Linked DNA regions of Homo sapiens: all the other regions are linked to region 4. Evidence: promoter capture Hi-C in 16 types of primary human blood cells and fetal thymus (Javierre and others, 2016). All regions are on one chromosome and are shown on one strand. Each heading gives the region's core, a stretch centred on a gene start or on the middle of the fragment in contact. The rest is flanking DNA. Distances are from core to core; before and after follow the strand shown. Region 1 overlaps HEATR3-AS1 (HEATR3 antisense RNA 1). Region 2 has its middle 33 kb from the start of CNEP1R1. Region 3 overlaps HEATR3 (HEAT repeat containing 3). Region 4 holds the start of NKD1-AS1 (NKD1 antisense RNA 1).

Region 1 (4,141 bases), core at 316-2,815, 560 kb before region 4:
CTACTCGGGGGGCTGAGGCAGGACAATCACTTGAACCTGGGAGGCGGAGGTTGCAGTGAGCTGAGATCACACTGCTGCGCTCCAGCACTCCAGTCTGGGAAACAAGAGCGAAACTCCATCTGAAAAAAAATATATATAGATATAGATATAGATATAGATATAGATATATGGATATATATAGATAGATATAGAGATATCTATATAGATATATCTATCTATATATCTCTATATCTATCTATATATATCTATATCTATCTATATCTATATCTATATCTATATATATCTATATCTATATCTATATATATATCTATATATATCTATATATATATATCTCCTTTAATTCTGCCCAGAGGCAAACACAGGAAACATTTTGGTACATACGCTTTGTTTCGGTTTTTTTTTTTTTCCATTTTTACAAATGTGAAAGGTCCAGGTATATATACTTCCATGAGTTTTTCTCTGTTTTGTGTGTTTCCAAAAGTGTGATTATGCTATTTATGCTGCTTTGTAACCTGCCTTTTTACTTCATAGTGCCTGGTGAACACCTTTCTTTCCTTATGGATAAACAGTATCAAAGGATGGTTTTCAAGTTAAAATTTTGACCTTCGTATACACATAGGGTGAGCATGTACATGTTCTTTAATGAAGGAACTGGGAGGATGGTAAAACTGGTTCAACAGAGAAACAGAAATTTATATAGTCAGTGTGGAAAAATGTATTTAAATGGGATTTCTAGGTTAGATATGAAACTGGTTAATATTCTACAGGGCAACGAAATTCTATCCTTTGGGGTTATCTTTTCTGCTGGACAGAAATAATTTGCATCTCAACTGGACAAAATCAAAATCATTTGCAATTTATTCATATATAAATTCACATCTAATTTCATAGAGTCTAGGCCCCTAAGTAAATGGTCAGTCAAACAAAAACATATATTTCTCTAGAGCAATGATTCTCAACTAAAGGTGATTTTGCCTCCCAGAGGACATTTGGCAATGGCCAAAGACATGTTTGGTTGTCACCACTGGGGAGTGTTAGTGGCATCTGGTGGGTAGAGGCCAGGGGTGCTGTTAAAACATTGTACAATGCACAGGACAGCCTCCACAACAAAGAATTATCCAGCCCAGACTGGCAACCTCCACAACAGAGAATTATCCAGCCCACACTGTCAGTGGTACCCACCTCTACCTATTAGATGCTAGTAGCACCCCCACAGTTGTGACAACCAAAATGTCTCCAGACATTGCCAAATGTCCCACAGGGAGGCAAAATTGCCCCCAGGTCAGACGCACTGCTTTAGAGTTGCACTTTACAAATGCATCGCATCTAGTCACGTGTAGCTATTTATTTTTATTTTTATTTTATTTTTATTTACTTTTTAATGTCATAATGTTAATGAACACCAGGGGTTCAGTCTAGGTCCTAGGCTTGATATACAGAAAGCCAATCACTGAGACAACAAGTATTGCAGGGAAGAAAGCTTTCTTCAGGTGACATCACTGGGAGAGACCGGAAATAAACCTCAAATCCATTCCTCCTCCCTGACTAAAGGTAGGTGTTTACACATCATGGGAGGATAACAGGAGCAGCAAGGAAGAGGAGTTGGTCAACAGGCAGCAGGGGCATCCCACAGAAGAAACGTACGTTTCTCAAGCTTCAGTTCTATGGACATCTGGCTTGTTGGAAAATTGGGCAGGCATCAACAACAAAAAATGTTTTTAATTAACCAAAATTGAAAATTTAGTTCCTAGCAGTAGCCTTACTTCAAGTGTTCAGTAGCCAATTGTGGGCCAAGTGCAGTGGCTCACTCCTGTAATCTCAGCACTTTGGTAGGTCAAGTCAGGAGGATTGCATGAGGGCAAAAGTTTAAGACCAGCTTGGGCAACAGGGTGAGAGACCTCATCTCTACAAAAAAAAAGAAAATAAAAAAATAAAACAACAACAACAAAATAGCCATGTTTGGCTAGTAGCTACTCTACTGGGCAGGGCAGGCAGAGAACATTTTCCTCTTTGTGGAAAACTCTGCTTGATGGTACTGCCTTAGAGAAATAATCATTTCATGGGTCTGTTAGACATTGGGACAATGTAATATTGAAAAAAATATGCAGGTCAGGTGCAGTGGCTCATGCCTTTAATCCCAGGACTTTGGGAGGCTGAGGCATGCAGATCAGTTGAACTCAGGAGTTCGAGACCAGTCTAGGCAACATGGTGAAACCCCATCTCTACAAAAAAAAAAAAAAATCAGCTGGGCATGGTGGTGGGCACCTGTAGTCCTAGCTACTCGGAAGGCTGAGGTGGGAGGATGGCTAGAGCCCAGGAGGTGAAAGTTGCAGTGAGCCAAGACCACACCACTGCATTCCAGCCTGGGCAAGAGAGCAAGACCCTGTCTCAAAAAAAGATTTAAAAAACATATATAAAGAAAAGAAACAGAAAAAATGTGCAGCTATCCTTTTTGCTTATTTCCAAGTTTTGGATAATTTTTCTTTTTTTCTTTTTCATCAGCACTTTTATTTTTCCTTACGCACTCGTGTTGTTGGGGCCTAATGTTCTCACATAACTGTAAGAAACCAAAATTTGTTGTCATCTCTTAAAGAATTGAGAATTGCATACACACACACACACACACACACACACACACACACAAACCTTACGTAAATTAAAGGGATGAATACATTTACAGGTGTAAATGCAAACCACTTCCAACTCAAGGCAAGTAACAGCCATGGTATTCCGGCAGGAAAACATCAGCTAAGAAAGGAAACTGGGTCCTATGGCTTGGACTTTCCAACCCTGACAGACCAGCAGAACAGAAACAACTGGTTCAGGAGCCCTTGCCAGCCTCTAGAGAAATCCCAGAACACTCAGCCCTAACACATTAACACCCTGCACTCGTGGGAGACTGCTGGCCACGCAGACCCACCAAGCCATGGACTTGTCTTCCACAAGCACGTTCTTACCTCAGCCACAAAGTGACCAAGCCACATGTACTAAGGGTTGAGATCCAAGATATGTACAGAATACTTAACAAATACCAAGGGAACAGTTAACTTGCATATGAGGTCAAAATCAGCAACAAGTTCTACAATCCAGTGCTGATATCAGATACAAGCTTCAAGGACGAATTTCTTTTTGAAGGCTTATTCCAGTTTCATGAGGCTAGCATGGGGTGTATGCATTTGCCAGGGGCAAATTTATTCTTCTGAATTAATCCACGCCACAAATGCTAGGCATCTGCTCGCAGTCCATTTAGAAGCATTTGCGGTGGATGATGGAGGGGGCTGACTCCTCGTACTCCTGCTTGCTAATCCACATCTGCTGGAAGGTAGACAGGGAGGCCAGGATGGAGCCGCCAATCCACACCATGTACTTGTGCTCAGGGGACTCGATGATTGTGATCTTCATGGTGCTGGGCGCCAGAGTGGTGATCTCCTGCATCCTGCCCGTGATGTCCAGGTACACGGTGGTGCCGCAGGACAGCATCATCTTGGCCTACAGGTATTTGTGGATGTCCACGTCACACTTTACGATGGAACTGAAGGTGGTCTTGTGGATGCCGGGGGTTCCATGCCCAGGAAAGAAAGCTGGAAAGTTGCCTCTGGACACCAGACCCACTGGCTGCAGATGGTGATGACCTGGCCGTCGGGTGGCTCATAGCTCTTCTCCAGGGACGAGAACACGGCGGTGGCCAGCTCCCGCTTGATGTCCGGGGTAACGTAGCACAGCTTCTCCTTGATGTCACGCACGATCTCCCACTCGGCCGTGGGGTGAAGCTACAGGTGAAGCTGTAGCCACACTCGGTGAGGATCTTCATGAGGTAGTTGGTTAGGGGAGATGGGCACCGTGTGGGCGACCCCATCTCCAGAGTCTGTGACAATGCCACTGGTGTGCCCAGAGCACTAGAGGGACAGCACGGCATGGATGGCCACACACATGGCCAGGGTGTTGAAGGTCTTAGACATGATCCAAGTTATCTTCTCTCTGCTAGTCTTGGGGTTCAGGGGGGCCTCAGTCAGCAGCACTGGGTGCTCCTCTGGGCCACACGCAGTTTGTTGTAGAAGGTGTGGTGCCAGATCTTCTCCATGTCATCCCGGTTCGTGACCATGCCCTGCTCGATGGGATATTTCAGGGTCAGGATGCCGTA
Region 2 (4,477 bases), core at 508-3,007, 620 kb before region 4:
AATCCGAAGTGGGTGGATCACTTGAGGTCAGGAGTTCAAGATCAGCCTGGCCAAAATGGTGAAACCCCATCTTTACTAAAAATACAAAAAAAAAAAATTAGCCTGGTATGATCTCAGCTGCCCAGGAGGCTGAGGCAGGAGGATCACTTGAACCCGGGAGGCAGAGGTTACAGTAAGCCAAGATTGCACCACTGTACTCCAGCCTGAGCAACAGAGTGAGATTCCATCTAAAAAAAAAAGAAAAAAGAAAAAAAAAACAGTTAAGATGGCAAATTTTATGTTCTGTGCATTTCATCAAAATAAAAAAGAGACAAAAAAAAAACCTACGATAAGATAGCTCTTCACACCTACTAAAATGGCTACAATAAAAACAAGTGTTGGTGAGATGTGGAGAAACTGGAACTCATGCATTGCCGGTGGGAATGTCAAATGCCATAGCCATTTTGAAAAGCAGTTTGGCAGATTCTTAAAATGTTAAACATAGCCAGGCATGGTGGCTCACACCTATAGTCCCAGCTACTCAGGAGGCTGAGTTGGGAGGATTGCTTGAGGCCAGGAATTCAAGACCAGCCTGGGCAATATAATGAGACCCCATCTCTATGAAAAATTAAAAAATTAGCCAGGCATGGTGGCATGCACCTTAGCCCCAGCTACTCAAGAGGCCAAGAGAAAAGAAAAAAGAAAAGAAAAAAAATGTAGTATATCCATACAATGAAATATTATACTATTCACCAATAAAAAGGAATTAAGTATTGATACATGCTACCAGGTGGCTGAACTTCAAAACGTGCTGAAATGAAAGCCAGTCATAAAACGCTACGTATTATATGTTTATGATTCCATTTATATGAAATAGCCAGAAAAGGTGAATTCATAGAAAAAGAAAGTAGATCATTGGTTGCCTGGGGTGAAATGGGGAGTGACTGACTGAAAATAGGCTCAGGGCATCTTTTTGGTTTGATGAAAATGTTATTTCAATAGCAAACTGGTGCTTAAAAAATTGATAATAATAAAAGAAATAATCTAAAATTGATTGTGGCAGTGATTAATATAAGTTTACTAAAAATTGTTAAATTTAAAATGAGTGAATTTTGTGATATGTAAATTATACCTCACTAAAACATAAAGCTTTTTTAATAAAATGAAGTCAGACTTCTGGATTACACATTGAGGCCCATGTTGGCCAGTGAGGTGCTTTGCCAGACAATTTCCACACACTAAATGAACAATCTATAACTCCTAGATTTTGCTTAAAATATAGTTAAAACATACATACAATACATACAGGATAGGATGGTAATGATATCCTTTATAACTCTTTAGGAGTATAATGAAAAATACTTTACTGTCAACTTACAAAGGTACAAGAGGGAAATTCATTTTTTTTCCACCAAGAGCTTGGGAATAGGGCCCCCACCCCATGTCAGCTCACTGCCATGGCAACTGGGAGGATGAGACCTCACTCTAGAAGCTAGAAGTCACCTGCCCCAGAGCAAGTGCTGGGGATTTCAGTGCATTCTCAATATTAACTGAGAGAACCATTAGAAGGCCAACACTAGGCTGGGCACAGTGGTTCATGCCTGTAATCCCAGTACTTTGGGAAGCTAAGGAGGGAGAGTCACTTGAAGCTGGGAGTTCCAGACCAGCCTGGGCAACATAGGGAAACCCTAGCTACACACACACACACACAAAACCCCAGCTACACACACACACACACACACACATATAAATTAGCTGGGCATGGTGGCTCATGCCTGTGGTCCTAGCTACCTAAGAGTCTGAGGTGGGAGGCTCGCTTGAGCCCAGGAGGTAGAGGCTACAGTGAGCTATGATCGTGCCACTGCATTGCAGCCTGGGTAGCAGAGCAAGATTGTGTCTTGCTCTGATTTAGCTCATTTAGTTTATAGGAAGAGAAGGAGAAAGAGAAAGAGAGAAGACAAGAAAGCAAGCCAGCCAGCCAACACCAAATGTCAGGTTGCATCTTTTCTCTCTCATCCTTTCATTATGGGAAAGCCCCACAGGAGGCATTTACCTTGCAAAACAACTCTTGACCTCCACTGCCCCTGGGACTGGGACAAAGCTGAAATACAAAGATAACCAAAAATAAATACATATATAAAAATTAAAATTTAAAAAAGGTGTGGGGCTTTCAAGAACCCATGTCCTTCAATGGTAATACTGACCTTAACTGATTTTCCCTGGAGACTGAGCTTCCGTATCAGACCCAACCCTCCTATACAACAGTCCCCCAAAGTGATATGTTCCAAGACCCCCAGTGGATACTTCAAACCATGGATAGTACTGAAGCCTATGATTCTGTAAAAAAATAAAATAAAATAAAAAATAAAAATACTATTATTTTTCCTATACCCACATTAACTATGATAAAGCTTAATTTATAAATTAGGCACAGTAAGAGATTAACAACAACAATAATAAAAGAGAACAATTATAACAATATACTATAATAAAAGTTATGTGAATGTGTTCTCTCTCCCAAATTATCTATCTATATCTATTTTTGAGATGGAGTTTTGCTATTGTTGCCCGGGCTGGAGTGCAATGGTGCAATCTCGGCTCACTGAAACCTCTGCCTCCCAGGTTCAAGTGATTCTCCTGCCTCAGCCTCCCAAGTAGCTGGGATTACAGGAATGCGCTGCCACACCCTGCTAATTTTTTGTATTTAGTAGAGAGGGGGTTTCACCATGTTGGCCGGGCTGGTCTCAAACTCCTGACCTCAGGTGGTCCACCCGCCTCGGCCTCCCAAAGTGCTGGTATTACAGGCTTGCGCCACTGCACCCAGCCAAATTATCTTAATATTTTCAGACCGAGGTTGACTGACTTAAATGGAGGAAAACAAAACCATGGATAGGAGGGACTACAGTACTTGTTGAAATTCTTCTTTCAGACTGATGTAGAACCGTCAAACTCACTTCTTACCACCTAGCCTGGCCAAACTTGCCTCAGACTCCTCCACTCAGACACCTGCTAGGTGCTGGGATACAGGGTGAGCAAAGTTGTCTTTGCTCTGTCCTGCTTCTTGTGGAAAAAGTATTCATCAAACGTTAAGCAGTCGAAACAGTGATTAAGTAAACACAGAAGCAAGATTATAACTGTGGTGACAGGCAGGGAAGTGGAGGCAGGTGGATAACGGTGCATCAGAAGGTTCACTCTGATCCAAACCTTTATCCATATTAACTCATTTAACCACCAAAAAGTCCTACAGGTACGTTCTGTTATTATCCCCATTTTAGGGATGAGAAAACAGATGCACAAGGAGGTAAAGTGCCTTGCCCTGGGTCACACAGCTCAGCAGTGGTCCAACCAGATTCACATCTAGGTCTGACTCCAGAAGCCGGGTATAATCCCCAAATTCACTGCCTCCATAAATATTGAAGGAGGTTAGGAATGGAGGCAGCCACATTCTCCCAAGGGCTGACCCAGATGGCACCAGCCTACACGTGGGGAGCACGTGCCAAGATGGGAAATCAAGCGGACAAGCCCGCAGGCCGCAGGGGAGGCCGGAGGGACCCTGAGCAGCTGCTGGATCTCCCTGAGTTCTGGGGTCAACATGCCCGTTTCTCATCTAGGGAAACTGAGGCCCACAAGGAGTAGGAAAACTGAGGATCTGAGGTGCCCCTGGGCCTCCCCAAACTCCCCCTTTGTGAGGTGGTAGGGGTGCAGGGGCTGCAGAAGTCAAGGCTGCAGTGAGCTAGGATTGCCTCACTACTCCAGCCTGGGTGACAGAGTAAGACCCTGTCTCAAAAAAAAAAAAAAAGAAGCCAGATGTGGTGGTTATTCATGCCTGTAATCCCAGCACTTTGGGAGGCCGAGGCGGGTGGATCACCTGAGGTCAGGAGTTCGAGACCAGCCTGGCCAACATGGCAAAACCCTATCTCTACCAAAAATACAGAATTCAGCTGGGCATGGGGGCAGGTGCCTGTATTCCCAGCTACACAGGAGGCTGAGGCAGAAGAATTGCTTGAACCTGGGAGGCAGAGGTTGCAGTGAATCGAGATCATGCCATTGGACTCCAGCCTGGGCAATAAGAGTGAAACTCCATCTCAAAGAAAAAAAAGAGAGAGAGAGAGAGAGAAAGACATTTGTGTGCCAGAAATTGTTCAAAACATTGGGGGTATGGCGGAGAGGATAAAATTTCTGTGGTCATCAGCTTACATTCTAGTATGAGAAGACAACAATGAAACAACACAGCTTATCACCCACAGCTGAGATTCATTTTACATCATTTCTCAGTACACACACAGACACAGACACATCAGTATAAAACTGAAACTCAAGTTTTACAAAACAATGCTTACCTCATAGCCTGTCAGCTCCTCAAAAGACCATCAAAAAACCAAAAAACAAGCCATCAAGCAAAGCTAACTTTGTTAGATGTTCTGCAGTCATGGAGACCACCATCTTGACAATCTTCATAGTATTTTAGAAAGGGGAAGGCGAGGAAAGGAAATGTATA
Region 3 (3,990 bases), core at 1,452-3,951, 530 kb before region 4:
AGCCAGATCTTCGGCTGGGCATGGTGGCTCACGCCTGTAATCCCAGCACTTGGGGAGGCCAGGGTGGGTGGATCACTTGAAGCCAGGAGTTCAAGACCTGCCTGGCCAATATGGTGAAACCCTGTCTCTACTAAAAAGGCAAAAAATTAGCCGAGAATGGTGGTGCATGCCTGTAGTTCCAGCTACTCGGGAGGCTGAGACATGAGAATCGCTTGAACCCAGGAGGCGGAGATTGCAGTGAGCCGAGATCATGCCACTGCACTCCAGCCTGAGTGACAGAGCAAGACTCTGTCTCCAAAAAAAAAGAATAAAAAAGAATAAGCCAGATTTTCGTATATTTTAAGTGAATGAGAGCCCAGCAGCAACATGTCTTGTTTAGCTTTGAATCTCCTCTAATAAATGTATATTTAGTTGAATTAGCACACACACAAAGCAAATAGAAATGATTTTTATATAGGTTCTTGCTACCAATAAGTAGAATTCAAATTTAGGGATCCCTGAGCTACGTCTATTGAATTAGCAATTTGCTTTTTTTTTTTTTAAGAATATGCTTAGAAGTTACAGTTAAATTGTTGCACAAAGAAGCCACTGGGGCTGGACATGGTGCTCATGCCTGTAATCTCAACACTTTTGGGAGGCTGAGGTGGGAGGATTACTTGAGGTCAGGATTTCAAGACCAGCTTGGGCAATATACTGAGACCCCATCTCTCAAAAAAAAAAAAAAAAGCAGGTAAATTTTTTTTCTTTTTCTTTTTCTTTTTTTCTTTTTTTTTGAGATGGAGTCTCACTCTGTTGCACAGTGGTACAATCTCGGCTCACTGCAACCTCTGCCTCCTGGGTTCAAGGGATTCTCCTGCCTTGGCCTCCCAAGTAGCTGGGATTACAGGCATGCACCGCCATGCCTGGCTAAGACCTTGTCTCTACAAAAATTAAAAAAATTAGCCAGGCATGGTGGCATGCACCTGTAGCCCTAGCTACTCAGAGGCTGCGGCAAGAGGATTGCTTGAGTCCAGGAATTTGAGGCTGCAGTGAGCTATGAACGTGCCACTGCACTCCAGCCTAGGCAACAGAGTGAGACTCTGTCTCTAAGGGGGAAAAAAAAAGACAATTGAAAACTGAAGTTTGGAAATATTCAAATAGTAAAATATACATTATTTTTAGCTCATGTACTGTTTTGGAATATCAGTATGGTTATTTCACTTTCCATAGACAATTTGATAATTAAGGTTATATAAATTTATATTACCCATTTTAAGAAATGTTGGTTGATAATGTTAAGTTTAAGTTGGCGTTATATATTTTCAGAGAAAAAAAAAGCTTCCTTCTTTCTTTAGTCTTAGAGAAATGCTTTATTATAGTCTTTACAGAAAGGCAGGAAGCAAGTCTGTCTGCTCCATAGCAAGTTCTACAGGTCACATAAGGGCTCGTTAGTAGTGTGTGTTAGCGCAGCCATTCCAAGAAAGACATCTAAGCTAAGCATCTAAAAGCAGGTTTGGTGTTTCTAAGTGCCTGGTGTCTGAAATGAACTCTTGTTTAAATCTTAGTATGCCCAGCTACTTCTTGACACAGTAGATAAGTTTCAGGGTGAATTCTGTTCAGAATTCCTGAATATTTGTCTGTTCTCTCCAGCTAACTAAGTGACGCTTGGGGAATAGCCATGCAGATAGATGGAAACCCAGTTAACGGGGGCATGCTCCACTGTACCAAGAGGAATTATAATGCTCGTTTGTACTTCTGGCACTTCATGACTTTTCTTTTACCTACCCCATTCCCCGTGTGCTCTATTCCAAGCGCAAAAATCTTCTAGTAGGCTTTCACTAAGGAAATTCCCCAAAAACATTTTCCCAACCATTGAGAGTTGGTCATTTACTTTTTTTTTTTTTTTTAAGCCCACTGACAAGGAACTGAGAGAGACTATAGCATTGCTGACAGCCCAACAGACTGCTCTGGAAATTATTGTCAACATGTGCTGCAATGAAGGTTTGTTAACATTTACATTTAGACATTTTCCCCCTGAGCCAAGAGGGAAACTCCCGTGGAGATTTTCTTAACTATTCCAGTTCTGCGTGGTTTGCCCGCTTCCCAGATCCCTCTGATGACGAATGGGAAGAGCTTTCTAGCAGTGATGAAAGTGACGCATTTATGGAGAATTCCTTCAGTGAGTGCGGGGGACAGCTGTTTTCTCCCCTCTGCCTCTCCCATGAAGTTCACACGGCTCTCACCAACTACCTCATCCCAAAGAAGGTAATCCATTTTCATTCTAGGCTTACCGTGGAGCATGGGAAAGGCTTAAGCAAGGTATTCATTTTGTGTACAAAAGAAGCAAGCTCACACTTCCAGGTTGTAGATGGTGGTAAGATCTGAGACAAAGCTGAGCCTAACAGTACTGGAAATAGGCGAAAAGGTCATTCTATATGAAGCCTAACCATTTCACTTAGGAGTAATATGTTGGAATTATGTAAGGGAATCGTGTTAAATGACTACTCTTTAACCTTTGCTTTACTGCCTCTTTTAAATCTAGATTTTTGAGAAAACTGCCTTTCCAAACAGCATTGCAGTTGACCTATGTTCTAGGAACCCTACTTGGAAACCTTTGATTAGAAAGTAAGAACTCTTCTGCTTTCAAAAACATTTGTCATTATTTTATTTTATGAAATGATGGGCTATTAAATAGAAGGTGCTGACTCCCCCTAGGACCCAGAAGTTTTGTTCCTGGGTATATATACCAGAAAAATATGTGCCCACATGCCCTAGAATACATGTATATGAGAGTGTTCATAGCAGTGTGTGTCACAGTTGCCCCAACCCATAAACAAACGTGTTGTCCATCAGAGTTAGAATGGTAAATAAATTTTGACAAAATCACGCAGTACAATACATGCAGCAGTAAAAGGGATCTGAATTAGAGCTACTCACAACTCGGATGGAACTTACATTGTTGAACCAAAAAAGCGAGACATAAAAGAATACACACACTGTGATTCAGTTTTTACAAAGTTGAGAAACAGGCAACATTGAACTATTTTGTTCAGGGATGCATACCTTGGTGATAAACCTATTAAAAAAAAAAAGAGGCAAGGAAATGTTTACCATAGAAGTCTGTATGGTGCTTACCTGTAGGTGTCAGGGAGGTGGGATATTATATGGAAGAGATACAGGGGCTTTCAGGGTCCAGCAGTGTTAATTTCTTTCCCAGGTGCATGGGTTTTGGTTTCATAGACTGTTTGTTAAACTCTCTATGTATGTTGTGTACTTAACTGTATATATGTCACATTTCACAATTAAAAATAATTTTAGGCTGGGCATGGTGGCTCACACCTATAATCCCAGGACTCTGGGAGGCCAAGGTAGGAGGATCACTTGAGGCCAGGAGTTTGAAACCAGCCTGGGCAGCATAGCAAGACCCCATCTCTACAAAGGAAAAAAAAATACAAAAATTAGCCTGGCATAGTGGCACTCAGCTGTAGTCCTAGCTACTTAGGAGGCTGAAGTGGGAGGATTGCTTGAGCTCAGCAGTCTAAGGCTGTAGTGAGCTATGATGGTGACACTGTACTCCAGCCTGGGAAACAGAATGAGACCCTGTCTGAAGAAAATTATAATTTTAAGGATGCTACCCTACATAGAAATTTTTCTAAAACATATTCCTCATGACTCATGAATGAGTTGTGTATCAGAGGCCGTGAATATTCAAGCAGTTTGATTTGGCAGATTAACAGTTCACCTTATAATTCTAGCACTTTGGAAGGTACAGGCAGGAGGATTGTTTGAGGCCAAGAGTTCCAGAGCAGCCTGGGCAACATAGCAAGACCCCTATCTACAAAAAATAAAAAACTTAGCCAGGTGTGGTTGCATGCACATGTAATCCTGCTCCTTAGGAGGCTGAGGCAGGAGGATCACTTGTGCTCAGGAGGTTGAGGCTACAGCGAGCTGTGATCACACCACTGCACTCCAGCCTGGGCAACAGAGTAAGACCCTGTCTAAAAAATGATG
Region 4 (4,223 bases), core at 635-3,134:
ACCTTGGGTGAGTCACTTCCCTGTGGCTCAACTTCCTCACTGGGTTCCTTGTAGCACTTCTTTGCCAGGGTTATTGTGAAGACAATGAGGTGATGGATGTAGGTCGCAAGGGTGGCCCTGGTACAGAGTAAGTGCCCAGCACACTTGAGCTGCCATGATTCTTGTTTCCTGGGTTCAGTTTTCTTGAAGAGGTGTCAGCCCGTGTTTATAATCATTTACCTAGCCCAGATCAAAGAGGACCTCTTTGCAAAGCTTCTTTAATCCTGTTAGAATCTCCAAAGGCCTCCCCGTACTCCTGGTGCCTGGAGTAGGGTCTGGCATGCTGTATGTGCTCAATAAATAAACACTCACTGAAGAAGGAAAGTCAATACCCTGTAGTCACTGAAAGCAGGTGACCTCTCCCTCTGCCTCACTGAAAGCAGGTGACCCCTCCCTCCGGCCTCTCAGGCAGGACCTGTGTACCTGTGTTGGGGCCTGGGCCAGTCTGTCCAGGCTCCCAGGGGTCAGATGTTGGGCAAAGGAACTTGGGAGGCCTGTACTTCCTTTCATCTGTAGTTGGAAAACTGAAGCCCAGAGAGGGAAGTGACCTGTCCAGGGTCACACAGCAGACTGAGAACAGAATCTGGCCCCTCACTCCTCACCATTCAGTATGTGCTGGGCATTTGCTGCAGCTAGGGGCTCTGCTGGGCCCTGGGTTCACAGGCACGAGCAAGGTAGGCAGGCCCAGCAGTCACGACATTCACAGGAGGGAGGCAGGGATGAATACATAAATCTGCGAAGGAGCATGGAAGTTTCTAGTAGTGGTTCTCTGCTAAGACGTAAAACCCAGGGAGAGGTAGAGTGAGGAGGCTTTTCTGAGAAGGTGATGTTTCAGCTGAGATGCAGATGCCAGGAAGGAGCCAGCCATGGAAGAATGTAGGGGGAGAGCAGCTATGAGTGAGCAGAACCCCAGAGTGGAGGGAACTTGGTGTTTGGGGAAGAACAAAAAGGAGGCCGATGTGGCATCAGGAATGAGAGTGGGGTGGTCGGCAAGTGTGGGACCACGCCCTTAGGTTGCGTGGTTCTGCCCAGATGGTTGGGTGGGTGACTGCTGGATTCTGACCTCTGTTTTAAGAAGTTAATTCTGGCTTCTGGGAGGGACTGCCCATGGGCAGGGAGGAAGAGGGCAATGAAACCAGGAGGTGACTGCAGGGTCGCAGGCGAGAGGAGATGGTGCTGGCCTAGCCTGGGAGCTTGGGGCTGGGGAGAGGTCCATGGGGCTGGAGGTTGGAGCTGGTGAGAAGGGGGTTGAGGGAACGAGAGAGATCAGGGATGCATCTTAGACTTTTGGTTTCAGGAACTAAGGATTTGGCGGTGTCACTTCTGAGGTGGAGGTTTTGGCGGGTGACCATCAAGCCTCCCGTTTTTGGACCAGTTGGGTTCAAGATGCCCATTTAACATCCAAGGAGAGGTACCGAGGAGGCCGTGGGATACCTGGTGATTGGAGCTTGGGGTTCAAGGAGCAGTTGGGCAAGAAACAGAGAGAGAGAGCGAGTCAAGACTTCTCAGGAAGTAGCCACGGACATTGCCCGGGACTCTCGGGCAAGGCTCCTCAATACACAGGGCTGGCGGTGGCTTCCCAGGAAGGCTGGGAGGAAGAGGAGTTCATGGGAAGGCAGCAGGGACCCCCAGATGGAGGGGCAGGTGCCCATGCCCCGCCGGCTCCTCTCCCTCAGTTCAGAGCCTGTCCTGTCGGGGGGTGTCAGCGGCCCTGACTCTCCACTCCCCTACAGTCCCCCCAGAAGCTGAGTTGCAGCGGTGACAGAGAACAAGCGGACTTTGTTACCTTGGCAGTTTCTCTCAAGTCTGCTCCTCATAAAAGCTCAGCTGGAACAGTGGAAATTCTGACTTGTGTCAGATACCGGAGAGGCTTTAATAGTTTCAAGTAGCTCGGGGTTAGATTGTAAAAGCCGAATTTCATCACATGTTTTAACTTGGGTGGGGGCGGGCGGGGGAGAGTGGAAGGGACGTGATATTTTTAGCCCACAGAAGGCTTTTTCTCCCCTTTCCCCTTCTCTCCCGGGGCTTCCCCCTCCCTCCCTGAACAGATGTTTCGTCTCAATCCTGTTCAGATGTCAAAGCCGAGTGGCCACCAGCCTTATGCTCTGATGAGGAAAAAAAGGCCAGAATGTTATTTGTTGAGAAGGATTTCCTCCCCTACCCGCTTTTCCCCCTTTTTTGTTTCCCCTCAGTTACAATTGGTCCATAAGCAAAATCTAGTGGCAGTAAAATGCAGCTGGGAGGCAGGATGGTGGAGAAGAAGTCCCTGGTGGCATTTCTGGTCTCAGGAAGGGGCAGACACCCACAGGTGAAAAAGCTGGAAATCACCCTAGAGGGACTGCCCTGGGTGAGTGAATTACTGCTGTGGTGCTGGTGCTGGTGGTTTTTCCTAAAAAGCAGGATCTCAGAGAGACGGATTTGTTAAGTCAGGATTCTTTCGGTTCTTTTGGAAACTCACTTAAACTTTTGGCTCATGAAATTGAAAAATCCTAGGGTAGATCTTGCCTAAAAAGGCCTGTTTGGATTCTGGAGCTAAAACCATGTCATGGACACATGCACGCACACACACACACTCACACACACACGTATACTCACACATTCACACACATGTCTCGCTCGCTGCCCCTCTCTCTCCCTCTCCATCATCTCTCCCTCTGTCCCCTGGTGGCTTCTCCCCCACAGGGGGCAAGGGTGGCAGTTCCCAGCTCTGGGCACTCCCATCCTATGAGCACAGCCCTGTCAGGTGGAAGAAAGTTCCCAGGTCACAGGGGTTCTTGCACATGTTGGACTCACTTTATTGACCACTTTACTGGTCACTTGACCAGGGTAGATCTAGGTTTTATGGGACCTGAAGCTTTCTGGGGCCAAACCAAAATAAATATCTCACCAACTCAGTCTCTCCTTAGCTCATGTCCAGAAATGCCTGTATTTCCCCTAGTATCACCTCACACAGGCAAAGGATGTCAGAATGGTTAGATGACAATCTTAATAGATTGAGGATAAAATGCCTAATTTGGAAAATGTTACAAATACAAACACATATGACCACATAAACACCTTGCAAAGACCCATCCTGACTTGGAAAGGGCCCGTGTAGGTGAGAGGGCCCAGAAGCCTAGCTTCATTAGCTTCTTCATAAACTCTTCTTTCATACTGACCTAGGACCAGCCACGTGGCCTTCAGGATGAAACAAGCTGGGTCAGGTAGGGGTACTGAGTGCAGTGTGACCCTGGAGTGGGATCAGTCTCCATAAACTAGATAGACTGAGAGTGGGGGATGAGTAGCTCTGGGGAGGAAAGCCAGATGCTATCATCAGAAGGAGGAGAAGGATTGCTGGACAGGCAGGAACAGGTGTCAGCTATTGTGGTCTGAGAGAGTGGACAGGCCAGTGGTTGAGGAGTTGGGAAACTGGGATTTAGTTCTCTTTGTTCCACAACTTCTGGGTTCAAATCCTGGTTCTGCTACTTACCGTTGTTTCATTTTGATGATGCTGCTGATGATGCAGCACCTATAGTGTGATAGACACTGCACTATAGACATATATATCTCAGGGTATAGATATTGGGCTGATGGAAGATTCTGATGATTAAATGAGTGATATAATGATGGTGTAATAAGGCTCACTGAGCAGGGAAGCCTAACCTAGCCCTGAGGGTGTGACAGCATGCTGCTCAGAGGAAGGGAGGCTTAAACTGAAGACCTGAAGGATGAGTGGGAATTGCAGAGCTGGAAAGAGTGTTCTTGGCAGGGATAACAGCGTGAGAGCATGGCAGGCTCAGAAAAGGGAAAGCAGTTCCACAGAGAGACGGGACTGAGAGGTGGCAGCAGCCGGGTCGTGGAAGCCTTTGGACCCCTCCTTAGGGGAAAGGGGGCCACTGGAGGGGTTTAAGCAGGGAAACGGCATAATCAGTTTTGGTTTTTAAGCTCAGTTTCCTCTTTTGTACGATGCCAACAGTAGCACACCCTGCACAGTGTTAAGAGGACTTAATGGAATAATGTGTGGTACTACTAACTTCACCAGCCTCTCCATGCAGCCCACCACAGTATGTGGCTGTGTTTACAAACAGAGGTGGGATCGCTAGGACCCTCATTCCCTAAGGAGAGCCTGATACAGATACTGCAAGAAACCATTTGGCCTGGAATGCACATATGATATCTTTCTCTTTTTACTGGCAGCAGATTTA

The links. Contacts are between HindIII fragments. The CHiCAGO score rates a contact against its expected background, and 5 or more counts as called.
Region 1: a fragment that was not itself captured here is called in contact with the fragment with the promoter of NKD1-AS1 in region 4 in 6 of 17 cell types (naive CD4 T cells, total CD8 T cells, non-activated CD4 T cells and 3 more); the score reaches 8.1 in naive CD4 T cells.
Region 2: a fragment that was not itself captured here is called in contact with the fragment with the promoter of NKD1-AS1 in region 4 in 5 of 17 cell types (total CD8 T cells, total B cells, erythroblasts and 2 more); the score reaches 10.5 in total CD8 T cells.
Region 3: a contact is called between a fragment that was not itself captured here and the fragment with the promoter of NKD1-AS1 in region 4, in 5 of 17 cell types (total CD8 T cells, naive CD4 T cells, naive CD8 T cells and 2 more). The highest score is 8.5, in total CD8 T cells.

Annotation. Positions count from the first base shown.
Region 1 is chr16:50,054,904-50,059,044 of GRCh38, forward strand. All of the region lies in intron 2 of HEATR3-AS1 (HEATR3 antisense RNA 1), which reads right to left. It also overlaps the pseudogene ACTG1P16. Among named protein-coding and RNA genes, the nearest start is that of HEATR3, 9.0 kb to the right of the region's middle. The HindIII fragment of the contact is 174 bases long and covers 1,479-1,652 here.
Region 2 is chr16:49,989,540-49,994,016 of GRCh38, forward strand. No RefSeq gene overlaps it. Among named protein-coding and RNA genes, the nearest start is that of CNEP1R1, 33 kb to the right of the region's middle. The HindIII fragment of the contact is 1,262 bases long and covers 1,127-2,388 here.
Region 3 is chr16:50,082,048-50,086,037 of GRCh38, forward strand. HEATR3 (HEAT repeat containing 3) reads left to right here. Exons shown (of 15, transcript NM_182922.4): 8 at 1,890-1,980; 9 at 2,087-2,244; 10 at 2,522-2,604. Among named protein-coding and RNA genes, the nearest start is that of HEATR3-AS1, 18 kb to the left of the region's middle. The HindIII fragment of the contact is 2,772 bases long and covers 1,316-3,990 here.
Region 4 is chr16:50,611,766-50,615,988 of GRCh38, forward strand. It overlaps NKD1-AS1 (NKD1 antisense RNA 1), which reads right to left and starts at 1,885. Exons shown (of 3, transcript XR_007065197.1): 1 at 1,826-1,885. All of the region lies in intron 4 of NKD1 (NKD inhibitor of Wnt signaling pathway 1), which reads left to right. The HindIII fragment of the contact is 2,641 bases long and covers 251-2,891 here.